Regions from separate parts of the Homo sapiens genome. Here region 2 is linked to region 1. The links are contacts of gene promoters, found by promoter capture Hi-C in blood cells and fetal thymus (Javierre and others, 2016). All regions are on one chromosome and are shown on one strand. The core of a region is centred on a gene start or on the middle of the fragment in contact, and the rest is flanking DNA. Distances in the headings are between cores, read along the strand shown.

Region 1 (2,529 bases), core at 9-2,508:
GGCAGGCAGGTCGACCAGCCACAGGAGGGAGAAGGGTCAAGGTGGCACAGGGTCCAAGCACTCAGGTTGAGTAAAATGAAGTGAGCAGGGGGTTAGAGTGAGTGGGAGGGTGGGGCTGCTCTATATCCTGCCCCTGTGGGGTCAGGAAGAGGAAGCATTAGGTAAGGAGGAGACTTGGCTGCAAATTGTAGGCTAAATATTTAGGCTGCAAGGTGCTCAACGAAGCCTGCATGGAACCCATGGGACCACCCAGGTTCCACTCTGTGGGTCTGGCATCATGCCCATTGGAGCCCAGGGCCATAGGGACACGTGGCTGTGACACAAAGGCTGCACTTATACTGGCCTTGGGATGGAGAAGAGTATTTTAGGGCTGATGGAATTGGTAGAGATGAAGCTTCCCCACCCTGGGGAAGGCAGGGTGGGGGGTGAGGAGGGAGGGGAAGGGAGAGCCTTTCCTGGGCTCCTGGCCTGGAGCGCTCTCTAGCCTCCTGCCTGCAAACAGAAAAGGGCCCAAAACCTTGTCCTCAGGATGGGGGATGGCCTGGGGGAATCTGAGCCTTTCTGGGGCCAAAGCCATATTCTTCCCTTTCTCCCATGAGAAGTGGCCTGTTGCTGTGTGGGCTTTCCTACCCTTGATTACAGGAGTCAAGGCAGATGACATTGGTCCTGCAGAGTGAGCCAGGTTAGAGCCTAGAGGTCTGGTGGCTTCTTAACCTGGGGGTCTTGAGCGGTGTGGGTGGGTAGGCCCGAGCAATTGCAGGGAGCAAGTAGAGGAGGGGAGGTGGGAGAGATTTGGGGGGTTAGCAGGTTGAGGCCCAAGGAGAGCCATGAAAACTGAGGCTGTCCTTCTGAGCCCTTATTCCTCTTGGCAGGACCAGAGTCTCTCCTCACTCCTGGAGGGGACAGCGCAAGACCGCACCCTCGAAAGCCAGGCCAGACAGGCAGCAGCCACAGCCAGGACCGCTCCACCCCTTGGGGCTCTCCTCAGGGAAGTGCCTTCTAAGCTTCCAATGAATTCCGGCTGTGGAGTGTGGCTGCCCCGGTCTCCCCAGTCTCCCGCTGTAGCTGAATTCCAGCCTGGCCCGCAGCTAGCCCTGTCTGCAGCTCCAAGCGTGGTAGGAGCAGGGGGTGCTGGGTTTGCCCCCCCTCAGGAGGAAGGGGGGATCCCTCCCTGCCAGTGGGAGGGGTTGCAGCCTGCACTTCCCCTCCCCACCCGCCAGCCCTGGGTTAAATGCGGCCGTTGCCTCTGTGTGCTCCAGCTGCCTGGCAGTCCCCACCTAGGGCACGCTGCCACGCCGCCGTTACCTGGTCCAAGTGCCCGGGAGGCTCCGCCTGTCGGCTTCGCTCTGCAGCTGCATCTCTGATCTGTCCTGCAGGCTCAGGTGAGTCAAAGGATTGGGAGGCACTGAGGGGTCTGCAGGGGAGTAGGCATCAAGCCAGGTCAGGCGAGTGTATTTTAGCAGAGACGCTGCCTAGGGTGCCCTATCTGATTTGCAGTGCCCTTCCCCACTTCTGCAGGGTCCTTTCCAAATCGAGCCCCCACCCTCAAAGCCATCAAAATAGGATCATCCCTTTTCTACTCTCATCCCTCCAGGAACCCCCTGAAATGTCCCTAAGGGACTTTTGAGAATTTATTTACAGGCCTCTCCTCCCTTGCTGCTCCACTCCCTCAACCTCACCTCAGGGCATCTCTGAATCTTTCTTTTTTTAATGCAAGGATTAACTCCTCAGAGGAATCCCAGGTTCTAGTATCAGTCCTGCCACGACATCGCCATGTACCCTTCAGCAAGACACTACCCTCTCTGGACCTAGTTCCTTTCTTTGTAGAATGAGGGGTTTGGAAAGGTGATGAACTTTGAGGCATTTGCTATTTTGACTTTCTAGGATTCCTGGGGTGGAGGCAGGGTGCCAGGTGAGAAGTTGGCTCAGACCAAGAATGGGATGAGGGGAACCTTAACCAAGATTTAGGGGCCCAGAGGCATCTCCGGGTAGGAAAGTATGGGAGGTGGCAGAGGCCCCTTGTGCCTTAGCCCTCATGCTGTCCAGGGATGTTGGCTTTGCCTGTGGCCCAAGCTTGACAAGGGTTCCCCGCCCTCCCACTTCCACCAGCGCTGCCACATCTTGCTTGGTCACCCTCCCACGACGGGCCCTGCCAGAGGATTTATGTTCTTCTACCAGGCCTGGGAGGGGAAAAGGGAGAAGAATCCGGGATGAGAAGGTCGCCTGGAGTGAGAAGCAGGCACTGGCCTCGCTCAGAATAGGCGCATTCACGGAATTGGGGGGCGGGGGCGGAGCTGCTGTTGGGTTAGGGGCAGCTGGCCCTCTCTGCCAAGAAACAGCAACAGAAAAATGGCTAACACAGCTTCAGCATGGGGCGCGGCGGTGGGGTAGGAGCTGGAAGGAAATGAGGTTTAGTGAATTCTAGGCGCCAGGGGGCCTCAAGAGAGAGAAGGGGAACCAGGAGCCCTAGGTTCTAATCCTGCTTTTGCAGTTCGGCGGGCTGCCTCCTTGGGGCTTAGTTTTCCTATT
Region 2 (2,529 bases), core at 16-2,515, 390 kb before region 1:
TGGCCTCTCAGCTATTCTATAGCTCACTGGGGCACTGCAAGAAATTGGAACTAATCCACACTTTGAAGAGCTTGGGGCTCAACAGAGCAGTTTAGAGATAGACACCATGATCCAGAGATCTCAGAGAGGTCACCCTTTTCAAGTCTTGACCCCTCTTCTGGGTATCTGGTCCCAACTTCACTCACAGCATTTACCAGTCTTTTAGAAAGCCTCTTTGTGCCTTTCCTCAAATTCTGATTCTCCAATTAACTCTACCCTGGGCACTCCTATTTTCTTGTAGCTTGCTTAGTCCCTCTTAGTCCTACAAACCTGCATGCCTTTTCTGAAACTTCTTAAGCAGGACCTAGCCTCCCCAGACACATGAGCTACCACACTTATCCCTCTTCTGAGCCGCCAGTATTCTGAAGATGTTTTCCCCATAGAAGAGTGGATGTATGATGAATAACAGTTCTTTTCCCACTTGGTATTGGTTAAGGTCAACATTACTAGAGCCAGAGCTCTTTTGAGTTGAGCTGGGCAGTGGTGGCTGCTGAGATGGACTCTACACTGTCCCATTGATGCTAATTACCGGTAATTGTACAGTACCTCTGGAGTTTGAAAATGTGGAATAAAAGGCAAGACTTCCTTTCCCTCCTTCCCAAAACATCCTCCAAGGCCAAGGTTATGTAGATTCTAGCTTGAGTTCTACCAACTTCGTTGTCTCTCTGTTTTATTGCTTGAAAAGTGAGTCCAAGCATCCATGAAGGAGCCACGGGCAGCAAGACTAAGCTGGATGATGAGGCTGATCACATTTACAGCATTTAATATTACTGAGCATTTACCATGGTTTAGTAAGAGTGAGCTATGTCTGCATGCATTATCTGTTCTCCTCCTGTATTCATTATAAGGATAAAAACCTGAGGCCCAGATACTATGCCCAAGGTCACTCAGCAACAGAGCAGGGATTCAAACCTAGATCTTGCCAACAATAAAGCTTGGGCCCTTGAACATGACACGGTATTTTTCCAAGAGGTGTGACAGACTGTCAGCCCTCAGATCCTCTCCTATCCACACATGTTACTTCCCTCCTTGGGCCCAGATCCAGCACCTACTCAGAACACGCTGCTTGGGACTCCCAGGCACCAGCTGCAGTGCTAGGCAGAACACCACCAGGAACTGGAGAGGCAGCACAGGCTTCATGGTGTCAGTGGGATGGGTGAGTAAGTTCTGGCCAAGGGTTGCTGGGTTTGACCAGGCACTGCTGTGAGGAGAAGAGAAGGAAAGAGGGCAAAGTGGAGGCCCAGTGTGACTAGCCTTTCACCGTGTACTCCAATCAAAACCGGCAGGGCAGGAATCCAAGCACCTCCCAATCACACCCACTCCAGGGTCACGTAGTGTTTTCATATCCTCCTTTATTCCCCTAATCTTGACCTTGCTATCTCTTTCATCTGTATCTAGATCTTATTCATGTCCCTTAACATTTTTTTATAATTTTCCCCTGTGGAAATTGTACATGTTATATTTATTCACAGAGGATTGAATTTTTTTTTTTTTTTTTTGAGATGATGGAGTCTGGCTCTGTCACCCAGGCTGGAGTGCAGTGGTGCGATCTCTGCTCACTGCAGCCTCTTCCTCCCAGGTTCAAGCAATTCTTGTGTCTCAGACTCCTGAGTTGCTGGGATTACAGGCGTGTACCACCATGTCCAGCTAATTTTTGTATTTTTAGTAGAGATGGGGTTTCACTGTGTTATCCAGGCTAGTCTTGAACTCCTGACCTCAGGTGATCTGCCCTCCTCAGCCTCTCAAAGTGCTAGGATTACAGGTGTGAGCCACCGCGCCTGGTCTGAGGCTTGAAGTTTTTAAAAGGAAATTGTAAATGTTATCATAACTTTTCAACTAATTCCTTTTGTTTACTGCTAATGTAGAGAAGTTAACTTTCCAGTTTGCTCAAAAATCTCCACCATGACAATTATTTGACCTCACTGAAACCAATAAACATTGACTCTTCACTTCCCTATTTCGTAGTCCTCCCCTATAGGCGTTTACTTTTCTTTCTATCAATGTAGGACTCAGAACCTGTCATTTAAATCTCCTTGCTTGAATCTACCTACAAAAACTGCAACCCTGAATGAATCCAACCATCAATTTCATTGAAGCTTGAACCTAGGCAGATAATTGTTGCTGGGGGAAAATAACTCAACTGGGCTACTAAACAGCACAATAGATGCACCATCACCAAACCAAAAAGGGTCTGGCAATCTTACTAAGTTTCTTCAGTAAGCCAGTGTTCCCACTTTCTACAAATACTATTTCAAACTTGCTTTCCTCTCTTTAAAGCTTGGATCTTTTCTTCTTTCCACAAATTTGTAACTAGTTAGCTTGCTAAATTCTCCCATTGTTTATTATGGTTTCTTTGTGTGTTCTCTTCAGTGTTTATCATAGGCAAATAAGCAGTTATAGTTTTCTTCTTCAAACTTTATGCCATTTTTAATGCCTCACTGTGCTCGCTAGGCCCTTGAGTACATCATATGTAAGTGGTGATAGTGTGTA

The links. Contacts are between HindIII fragments. The CHiCAGO score rates a contact against its expected background, and 5 or more counts as called.
Region 2: a contact is called between the fragment with the promoter of WFDC13 here and the fragment with the promoter of MATN4 in region 1, in 2 of 17 cell types (M1 macrophages and M2 macrophages). The highest score is 6.0, in M1 macrophages.

Annotation. Positions count from the first base shown.
Region 1 is chr20:45,307,028-45,309,556 of GRCh38, reverse strand. MATN4 (matrilin 4) reads left to right here and starts at 1,258. Exons shown (of 10, transcript NM_001393530.1): 1 at 1,258-1,382. RBPJL (recombination signal binding protein for immunoglobulin kappa J region like) reads right to left here. Exons shown (of 12, transcript NM_014276.4): 2 at 1,306-1,414. The HindIII fragment of the contact is 1,069 bases long and covers 1,007-2,075 here.
Region 2 is chr20:45,700,774-45,703,302 of GRCh38, reverse strand. WFDC13 (WAP four-disulfide core domain 13) reads right to left here and starts at 1,265. Exons shown (of 4, transcript NM_172005.2): 1 at 1,092-1,265. The coding sequence starts at 1,179. The region is part of intron 2 of WFDC10B (WAP four-disulfide core domain 10B); the gene reads left to right. The HindIII fragment of the contact is 1,162 bases long and covers 976-2,137 here.